Regions from separate parts of the Homo sapiens genome. Here regions 2 and 3 are each linked to region 1. The links are contacts of gene promoters, found by promoter capture Hi-C in human tissues and cell types (Jung and others, 2019). All regions are on one chromosome and are shown on one strand. Each heading gives the region's core, a stretch centred on a gene start or on the middle of the fragment in contact. The rest is flanking DNA. Distances are from core to core; before and after follow the strand shown.

What was found. The method cuts DNA at HindIII sites, captures the fragments that hold promoters and counts their contacts. A contact is called where the count stands out against the background at its distance.
Region 2: a fragment that was not itself captured here is called in contact with the fragment with the promoter of VPS33B in region 1 in 1 of the 25 tissues and cell types used here (heart left ventricle).
Region 3: a contact is called between a fragment that was not itself captured here and the fragment with the promoter of VPS33B in region 1, in 1 of the 25 tissues and cell types used here (aorta).

Annotation. Positions count from the first base shown.
Region 1 is chr15:91,021,000-91,024,549 of GRCh38, reverse strand. VPS33B (VPS33B late endosome and lysosome associated) reads left to right here and starts at 1,956. Exons shown (of 23, transcript NM_018668.5): 1 at 1,956-2,396. The coding sequence starts at 2,301. VPS33B-DT (VPS33B divergent transcript) reads right to left here and starts at 1,928. Exons shown (of 4, transcript NR_110104.1): 1 at 1,810-1,928; 2 at 579-1,237. RefSeq lists enhancers at 1,992-2,401, 2,256-2,872. The HindIII fragment of the contact is 30,515 bases long and covers 1-3,550 here.
Region 2 is chr15:92,083,943-92,087,492 of GRCh38, reverse strand. The region is part of intron 2 of SLCO3A1 (solute carrier organic anion transporter family member 3A1); the gene reads right to left. Among named protein-coding and RNA genes, the nearest start is that of SLCO3A1, 230 kb to the right of the region's middle. The HindIII fragment of the contact is 4,745 bases long and covers 1-3,550 here.
Region 3 is chr15:92,048,969-92,052,518 of GRCh38, reverse strand. The region is part of intron 2 of SLCO3A1 (solute carrier organic anion transporter family member 3A1); the gene reads right to left. Among named protein-coding and RNA genes, the nearest start is that of SLCO3A1, 200 kb to the right of the region's middle. The HindIII fragment of the contact is 8,153 bases long and covers 1-3,550 here.

The DNA.
Region 1 (3,550 bases), core at 707-3,206:
GTTGCCTAGGCTGGTCTTGAACTCCTGGGCTCAAGCAATCCACCTGCCTCGGTCTGGGTTCACAGGCGTGAGCCACCGTGCCTGGCCCAATCTTTTTCCTGAATGTTCCTACATCTCCCCCTGGGTTATTTTAAAGCAAATCCCAAACATATTTTAGTTTTTTTTTTTATTTTTTAAGAGACAGATCGGGCCAGGCATGGCGGCTCATGCCTACAATCCCAGCATTTTGGGAGACTGAGGCGGGAAGATCACCTGAGGTCAGGAGTTCAAGACCAGCCTGACCAACATGGAGAAACTCTGTCTCTACTAAAAATACAAAATTAGCTGGGTGCGTGGCACATGCCTGTAATCCCAGCTACTCAGGAGGCTGCAGCAGGAGAAACGCTTGAACCTGGGAGGTGGAGGTTGCAGTGAGCTGAGATCGTGCCATTGCACTCCAGCCTGAGCAACAAGAGCGAAACTCCATCTCAAAAAAAAAAGAGACAGAACATATCACTGCACTCCAGCCTGGGTGATAGATAAAGCCAGACCTTGTCTCAAAAAAAAAAAAAGAAAAGAAAAAACAAACGGTGTCTCACTCTGTTGCCCAGGCTGGGGTGCTGTAGCATGATCGTAGCGCACTGCAGCCTCAAACTCCTGGGCTCAAGTGATCCTCCTGCCTCAGCCTCCCAAGTATCGAGATTAAAGGTGCCCACCACCATGCCTGGCTATTTTTTATGTGTTGTAGTTGACCAATCTTATCTCAAACTCCTGGCCTCAAGCAACCCCCCGACCCCGACCTGGACCTCCCAAAGTGGTGGGAATTAGAGACATGAACCATTACTCCTGGCCAAATTATTTCACCTGTAAAAACTTCAGTATGTATCTCAAAGAGATAAGGACTTGTTTTTAACAGAAATACAAGCCTGTATGACATAGAAATACAAAAAATAATAATAACATAGAAATACAATACCTGGCCCAACGTTGTGGCTCACGCCTGTAATCCCAGCACTTTGGGAGGCCAAGGCAGGCGGATCACTTGAGGTCAGGAGTTCGAGATCAGCCTGGCCAACATAATGAAACCCCGTCTCTACCAAAAATACAAAAATTAGCCGGGCATGGTGGCACTCGCCTGTAATCCCAGTCTACTCGGGAGACTGAGGCAGGAGAATCTCTTGAACCTGGGGCGGCAGGGGGGTTGTGGCGCGGAGCTTGCAGTGAGCCGAGCTCCTCCACTAGGCAAAAGGGCGAGACTCTGTCAGGAAAAAAAAGAGAAGAAAAGAAATACAATACCCGAAAAGTTTTAGTAATTCCTTAAATCAGTTATCTTTGAATTATTATCCAAAAAAGATCCACACATTGAAACATTTTGTTGATACATCTCTTAAATCTCTTTTATTCTGAAGTGTTTTCCCCTCCCACATTTCCCACTTTGCCATTTTTTTGAAGACGACAGATCATTTGTCCCATATAATTTCCTACATTTTGGATATGGTTGATTTCATACCTTTGGTGTCTTAACATATTCCTGCTAATCTCTATATAGCCTATAAACTGGTAGTTAGATCTTGAGGCTTGATTAGGTTCAATTTTTGGCAATAGGTGATGCTCTGTATTTCCTATGCATCTCACCAGGAAATGATATGATGGTATGATTGATCAGAGTTGAGGTATTGTTAGCTAGCCTGATGCATTCATTATGTCTTTTTTTTTTTTTTTTTTTTTTTTTTTGAGGCAAGGTCTAGCTTTGTTGCCCAGGCTGGGGTGCAGTAGCGCGATCGCAGTTCACTGCAACCTCCGCCTCCCTGACTCGAGCGATTCTCCCACCTCAGCCTCTGGAGTGCTGCGACCCCAGGCGCCGCCACCTAATTAATAGACGCGTTGCCTCCGTTTTTCAAATGTCCCTTTCAGGACGCCGTCCCCTTCCTGGTACGCGAAGCGCTGGGAGCGAAAGGGACTTCCGGGAGATCTAGGAAGTCGCTTCTTTTTCTGGTAGAAGGCGGGGTTCTCCTCGTACGCTGCGGAGTCTCTGCGGGGTGTAGACCGGAATCCTGCTGACGGGCAGAGTGGATCAGGGAGGGAGGGTCGAGACACGGTGGCTGCAGGTCTGAGACAAGGCTGCTCCGAGGTAGTAGCTCTCTTGCCTGGAGGTGGCCATTCATTCCTGGAGTGCTGCTGAGGAGCGAGGGCCCATCTGGGGTCTCTGGAAGTCGGTGCCCAGGCCTGAAGGATAGCCCCCCTTGCGCTTCCCTGGGCTGCGGCCGGCCTTCTCAGAACGAAGGGCGTCCTTCCACCCCGCGGCGCAGGTGACCGCTGCCATGGCTTTTCCCCATCGGCCGGACGCCCCTGAGCTGCCTGACTTCTCCATGCTGAAGAGGCTGGCTCGAGACCAGCTCATCTATCTGCTGGAGCAGGTCAGTGCTTGCCTGACGCCTTTATCGCATCTACAGTTTAGCACTCATTGGATGCACATTTCTTCCTTGCCGTGCCCCTTTGATCTTGTTCTTGGCCCCTGGTATTGTCCTTGGCGCTTCCCCAGCAGGTCCAGAATGAATCCAGGGAGTAGTAAGAGCTGTTTGGAACCTGGCCAGAGAGTTAATGGAAATCACCCCCCAACCCCGCATACAGGCAAGGGAGACACCATTAGTGCCAGGCATCCCTAGGGACGGAAAGATGGTTAAGACATCTTTGCCATTAGGGATCTTACCACTCCAGTAGGAGCTGTATGAAGCACAAATTATCACACACAGGTGGTAAATGAGTGATAGAGCTAGTGTACCCGAAGAGTTCACAGTAAGTGATCATTTCTAGTTGGGGTGATGATCTAGGAGCTTCAAGGAAGTGAGTGTGAGTAATAAGCATATTTTCTTTGGAGACTAAGCATGCTCCAGGCAGATAGATTGGTAGGAGCAAAGTTGGCAAACCAGGGAAAGACAAGGCATGTAAGGGAAGACACCCATCAGCAGTTACACAGTAGCCACTGAAAAAAATTTTTTTTCCATTTGTGGCATGAGACAATACTTGATGATTCTAATAGTGATGTGTGTGGTGGCGTAAATGGGCAACAAGAAGGCCAGTTAGGAGACCGTAGATCAGACAAGAAATAAAGGCCCACACAAAATTGGTAGCAGTGGGAATGAAGGAAAGTGATGGATTTTTAAGTTATGGTGAAAGAAAACTCAAAGACTTACTGATTGGTTATAAATGTTGAAGGAGAAGCAAAAATGAGTGAGATTTTTAACCTGGGTTATTAGGAAAATAATACTGCCACTGTGATTTTAATGGATTACTTGTGTAATCATTTAGTTATTCATTTTATGTCTGTATTCCTCATTAGACTGGAAGGTGGGCAGGGATCATGTTTGTTTTGTTCAACACTACCTAGTGAGTACCTAGCTTAGAGTCAAGCACACACCATGTGCTTAATAAATATTTGTTGTATTAACATTGAATAGAAATGAGAAAAATAATTAGAAAAAGGAACAGGTTTGATGGGGGAAGTTGATTTGTTTGGGTTTGGATGGGGGAAGTTAAGATGCCCGTAAGAAATATAGCTTGTAACATCCAG
Region 2 (3,550 bases), core at 749-3,248, 1.1 Mb before region 1:
AACATTTTGTGTTTGTGGAATGTAGCAAGGTGATTCTAAATTGTTCATAGAAATGCTAAGGACCAAGACCAGTCTAGACATGTTTGAAGAAGCACAACTGTTGTCAAGACTTTCCCTGTTGGGTATCAGGACTTCTTTTAAAGCCAAGGTGCCTCTGGCACAAGAAATAACAAATATAGCAATGAAGCAAAAGAGAAGCCCAACAACAGATCCACACCCTTACAGACACCTGCTTTATGACAAAGTGTGCACTGCAAAACAGTTGGGGAAAGAATGGTATTTTCCATAAATGGTGCCAGGACAATTTGCAACTATAGGCGGTGGGCGGAGGGAGGGGGGTGGTGGGGGAATGAGCCTCACCTCACAACACGTGCAAAAATCAATTCCAGGTGGATCAGAGACCAGAGACTATAAGGGTGAAAAGGAAAACATAAAAGCTTCTAGAAAATGACAGAGTAAAGTACCTTCATGATGTTGGGGGTAGAGAAATATTCCTTTTTTTTTTTTTTTGAGACGGAGTTTTGCTTTTTCACCCCGGTTAGAGTGAAGTGACTTGATCTCAGCTCACTGGAACCTCTGCCGTCCCCACACCAGGTTCAAGTGATTCTCCTGCCTCAGCCTCTTGAGTAGCTGGGATTACAGGCGTGTGGCACCATGCCTGGCTAATTTTTGTATTTTTAGTAGAGACGGGGTTTCACCATGTTGACCAGGCTGGTCCTGAACTTTTGACCTCAGGTGATCCACCCACCTTGGCCTCCCAAAGTGCTAGGATTACAGGCATGAGCCACTGCGCCCGGCTGAAAGATTTCTTAAAACAAACTTAAAAAACACTAGCTATTGAAAGAAAAGACTGGACTACATTACAATTAACAACTTCATTATCAGAGTGAAGCTGATTTATCAGAAGAGTTCACCAAGAATGTGAAAATGTGGGAAAATACATGTGCAACACATATATTTTTATAATACATGTAAGAATCAAGGAGTTCATATGTAGACTATATAAAAACTACTATAAATTGATGAGAAAGAAAAAAACCAGGAGAAAAATCGACAGAAACCTTAATAGGCATTTCAAAAAACAGGAAATCCAAATGAACAATAAGATATAAGAAAATGGTCAGTCTCATTAGAATTCAGAGAATTATAAATTTAGACCCCAATTAAATACGAGTGTGTTTCAGCTGGTTAAAGAGTCTGACACTACCAAGTGTTGGCAAGGATCTGAAGCTCTCCTACACTGCTGGTAGGAGTGTAAATTGGACAACACCTTGGCAAAACTTGGCAGTGTCTGAAAAAGTGAAGATAAACTAATCCAATGATGCACAATTCTGAGTCCTTGGTAAACACCCCACAGCAAGTGTGCTGACGGACTGCACATTCTTGGAGAAGCATCCAAGAATGCGCACACCAGCATTGTTTGTAAGATTTCCCAACTGGAAACTATCCCAAATGCCCAACCATGGTAGAACAGAAAAACATACTGTGATCTCCCGTACTCTGGAGTTACTCTACAGCAAAGAAAACAGATCATCTATAGGTGATCATCAATGACATGGTTGAAGTTGAAAGAACACGTCCTGGTGTGAGTCTACTTATGCAGGATTCCAAACAGCAAAGTTAACTCTTTAATGACAGGGAGTCAAACTATAAAGAACACCAGGGAAAGGACTATTACAGAAGTCAGGACTGTGGTTACTGTCGGGGGAAGGGAGGGTCCTTGGGGACAGGTGGGGAGGAGATTCTCCAATGCTAGTTTTGTGGTTGATTTGTTTATAGACTTCATGGGTATTTATTTCACAACAACGTGTAAGCTGTGTATCTACGTTTCAGGCAAGAAAACGTGATTTTAATATTTTTAATACACACGTATGCACATGCGTGATATAAGTACATACACACAAATGGCTATTTGAGTGCCTGCTGTGTGACGCCAGTTGGACTATGTGATTCACCAATGTTACCTCAGGATTACTCCCAACTAGGCAATGGGTTGGGTGCTACCATCCCAGTTTCATCCAAGAAGGCATGAGGCCCACTTAAGCAGCTCGCCCCGGGGCACTTGGCTTCCAGGCAGCAGCTTAACCACAATATGCCTACGCAAAACTGGGTCCCCAGTTAGCTCACGTGCAAATAGACAGGGTTGAAGAACAAAAACAACTAAACTTTGCTATTCAAAGGCAGCTCCTTGAATCGAGGAGTCCATTCAGATGCAGGCACACGGCTACTCTGAAATCAAAACTTACAGCAGGGAAGCCCAGTTGCCCTTCAGAGGGCAGGTGGGGTGGGATTCAGAGTGGGTTCTACAGCTGGACTGGATGTGCGTCCAAGTACTACCAACTTAACTGCCTGGAAACCTGGGGAGCCCCCTCAGCCTCTCTATGCTGGTTTGCTGCATCTGAAAAGTAGTGTGCTACTAAGACATTTTATAGGGCTGTGGTGAGTAATAAATGAAAGCAATGGTGGGGGCCCAGCCCTGGCACAGATGAAGCACTTCATAAACATCAGTTTCCACTGATGCTCCAAGAGGAAGACTCCATGGCACCCATTCTTGTTCTCCCTCCTTCCGCCTGGCCCTGCGGCTTCTGCAGGCTCACTGGAAGGCCTGCTCTTGGAAGAGATACTATCACTGGCTGGCTATGGTGGTGCATGCTGCATTGTTTGAGAAAAATGTTGACCCTTCCATGTGAACCTTTATTTTTCTCTTTGTCAAAGTGTAGCATGGGGCATGGCTCCTGCGTTGAACAGCCTGTGGGGCTGGGTGAGAGGAGCACAGGCTGCCCGAGGAGCTGCAGGCATCTGCTACCTGCTGGCATAAACTCTTTATGCCCCTGAGAGCAAAGCCAAACAGGCCATCCAGAAACCCAGGGACTGCTATCAGCTCCCCTACTCACTTTGCAATTAGATGCACCCATTCGTGTTTCTGACCCTCAAGGTCTCCTGGGGTGGAAAAGGACAGAGAGGTACTACTGACCTTGAGGGAGGATCGGTGTCAAGGCTCTGCTGTACTGGTGTGTCTGTGAGCATGGTACAAATGCTCCCTCGGCCTCAGTTTCCTCCTCTGTAAAATGGGATGACAACAATCCCTACCTCCTAAGGGGTTATTGAGGGTCAAATACGTAGTGCACAGAATGCTTCTGATCAATTCCTGGAACACAGACATTCTCAAAAACCATCAGCTGTTATTTGTTCTTCTTACTGGTGCCTCTAACAGCAGGATTTTCTTTTTTTATGACGTTTTAAATCACTTAGGTAAACTCTGCTTTTTTTAGAGAATGTGGAAAATACAGGATCATGTAAAGGATTAGCATCGTTCTCATATTTCCCTTTAGGCATTATTATATTTGTACTGTCTTTCTTCATATGCGTTTATCATTCCTGGAACCATGTAAGTTAATTTACAAACAAAACCCCTTTTCTTCATTTTAAAAGCAGCACATGCTCATTAAGGATGACTGAGGATAAACCAAGCGTAGAGAGGCAGAATAACACAGTGGCCAAGAACACAGACCCTAGAGCTGCATGGCCAGGGTCTGCAGTCACTGGCTGT
Region 3 (3,550 bases), core at 417-2,916, 1.0 Mb before region 1:
TTGCTGGAAACTGCTGAGAAAGAACTCTTTCCCTAGCCTGGCATTTGGACTGGATGAACCCTGAGGTCCTATCTAGTTCTTACCCAGGTGAGTCTAGGATTTATGCTCTGGAAGCCAGAAGTCATAATAATGAACATTCATATGATCCCTTACAGAATGCAAAAGGCCAATCTGTCTTCCAGTGTCTCCAGGTAGGTATTGCTCACCCTCTTTCCTGAGATAAGGGAACAGAGGCTCAAAGTGGAGAGAGAGAACTTGATACAATGCTGACCCCATCTCAAGGTGGATGACAGGAGCATGGACACCCAGCTGAGTACAGGCTGTCTGTCCAAGGAAACTTGTCTTAGAGCCCCAGACCAACCACACAAGTTCTGTGCACACTCAGCAGCTTGGGGCAAGGAGGGGTTGGGGATATGGCGATGAGCAGGGACACGGGCAGTGTGGAGTACCACTTTTGCTCTGAATTCGAGAACCCTGGAGCCCGGGGATTAGGAGACCGGAGCCTGCTTTACTCAAAAGCTGTGTCATTTGGTCTTTAAAGTCACAGCCTCGTGAGGTCATCACCAACTGCTCCCCAGTACATCTGCCCAAAATAGTACTGACATCTGGGTGTTTTAAAAAGAAGACTCATTGCTGTAGAATTACAAAGAGCATCTAACCCTCATCACGCAGCACTTTTGTTTCTGTCCAGCTTGAACTAAAAGGAGAGGGAGGAGGCCATCAATGGAAAATGTAAGTGTCTTCTTTGAAGAGTTAATCTGCTGATTTCACGGCTGTTCCTTCTGCCATTTCTCATCTCTCAGATACAAGCACGAACCTAGCACACACAAGACGGTCACGTAGCTGTTCATTTCACGATGGGATCAGAAGACAAGCTCTCATGCTCCAAAGCCCCTCCTTGATTCGTACTCCAAACTGAAGCTCCTGGTCTTAGCACACTCTCCCTCCCTCTCCAGGCTTGGCTCCTAATAAAATTGGAATAAAAATATTCCAAATCAAAAAACCCCTCAATTACACTTTCAAACCCTATTTGGTTCCATTGAGCAAATCCATGAGGTCTAGTGAATCCCTCCCTGTGCACTGATGATTCCAACTGCCCACAAGATGAAGTCTAAATGCCCCCAGCCACTCTTGCTCTGCCTTCCTATGCAGTCCAGGCTACAGGGATGCTGTCCCAAAGCTGTTCCCTAAGGGTGACACATTCCCTAGCCTCTGGGCCCTCACACATGCTGTTGCCTCTGATGAAATCTCTCCATCCACCTCTTGACCTGGCAAATCACACCTGTTTCAAGTTCCAGCTCAAATGTTACCACTGCCCTGAAGCCTTCACCTCACTGTGGACCCTGAGCATACTATATGCCTTACTTAATTCCCCTGATTATTTGCACCTCTATCATAGTAAGAGAAAAACACAAGAAAATTGTAGGTAATAATACTATGGAGAAAACACAACAGGTGTATGTGACAGAGTGACGTGGGGCAGAAGGCAACTTTGGATGGGTCAGAGAAGTCTGCTCTAAGAAGGTGGATTTGGGCTGGGGCCTGAGAGACAAGAAGACTATGTCTGAAGGCTGAGTGTCACCTGTGGAGGGAAAAGCATGCGTGAAAGTCTTAAGTGGGAGTGAGTTTGATGGATGTGAGGAATAGCAAGAGGGGCCAGGAGGCTACATCATCCCGAGCCGTAACAGCATAGCAAGACACAGGCTGAAGAGGAAGGCAGGCTCTCCCAGTTGTGATAAGCAGTCAGGGTTCTATCCTATGTGGAACAGGAAGCCACCAAAACATTTTAAGCAGGGACGTGACCTAAAAGATGATTCTGGTTGCTGAGTGAGTAATGGCTTACAGAGTGGACACATGATATGGTTGGTGGTAGTGATAGTGGCCAGGACTAGCACAGTGGACAGAAGATAGAGATGTAATGGGTTGGGGTGTAATTTGGAGACAGAGCTGAGAGCATTTACTGACACGTAAGATGTGGGTAATGAGGGCAAGGGCTTGTATCCACTTCCGACCATACCAGTGTGCATTCCCAGAGAGCAGGAGGCATTTCCTGAATCTCTGGATGGTGGCACCGTGCCTCCGTGTGCAGGGACTCTGTGACAACATCGCATCTGCTCAGACAAGTCTGAAAATGTGTTCCCTAGGTGTGTTTGTTTCCACTCTTCTTAAAGCTTGCAATAAATTGCCTTGTCATCTGCCTGGTCTCAAACAAGCCATCCCTCTGTGGCTGGCGACTCCTCAAGGGCAGAGTGCCCAGCCCACAGAGGTGCACTATCCACACCTGCTGAAGGCACTGAAAAGGCCACAGGTGCTAACACCTTCGAAGCAGAGAGCAGAGGCAGCATCACCAGAAAAAGTCCACAAGACCAGAAGCTAAAGGCCATGCTTATTTGTTTGTGACAGTCACCTAAGTGTGCAGCTTAGTGATCAGGAGCATTGACTATTGGTCACCCGGTCATGAGGCAATGACCCCTGGAAACATCTCAGACAGCACTAGGGTTCTGGGCATCTAGGGGCCTGCTGGATTCATTTTAAGCTGGAAGAAATTCCGCTGACATTTGCTGCTCCTTCAGGTTCTGAACTCTTCTGTGATTAAAAAGCTCACGAGCAACTTGTGCTCTTGCTAAGAGGTGCCAGTGTCACTGTACATTACAAAGCTGTCGAGTCTTCTTTTCCTCCCCGCCTCCCTAGCTGGGCCTTAAACAATTCCATGACTATTTCCTCCCAGATGTCTTCCTGAATGGCCCTAAATGTCAGTAATCTCTTGGAAACTGGCCACTGCTGCTGTTAATATCTAGGTTGTCAGACCTCTAACAGCGTTTGGATTTGTCATGGGCTATTAACTAGCTAACTCTTCATTAAGTCTTGGTAAAGATCGATTTCTGGGGGGCTGATCTAGCTCCACTTGTTTGCTAAATGGAAGAAACAGATGTGTCTGCCCACATCTCCAGTGGTTTCACTTTGTAGGATGCTGTGGCCTAGGCACTGGTTGGTAAAATCTTTGTCCCAAGGTGTTGGGCAGAATTGGCCTCCGTTGCCATGGTGACAGCAGGGCAATGGTAGCTTAGGGTCAGTTGCAAGAGCTTGGGGGTACTGGAGAAACCAGTCACTTCCTTCCGTCACCAAACCCACCCTGAACACACACCGCTTATTGAACCTTGAGCAAATCACTCACCCGAGCTGAGCCAATCACATAGTTTTTTTCCTGGGAATCTGGATTTCAGACACAGAGACTAAGAGACTTTAATAAGGTTGGGGGCTGGGGCTGGCACCGAAGCTAAAGCAGGGAGGGTAGCAGAGGCCAGGAGGAGAAGCCACTGTGCAGAAAGATGCAGGCACGACCTGCCTGTAAACTATCCAACTGTACCCTTAAAATAAACCCTATCAATGGGTGTCTTTTCCTTGTAACCACTCATCTCTAAGATCATGGGTTTTGACGTCAGACCAGCCTGGAATCAAATCTTGGTCCTGGCACTTCCTGTGTTATCCTTTCACATATAACCTCTCCAGGCTTTGGCTGCCTCATCTGTAAAATGGGGCTAAAGCCAAT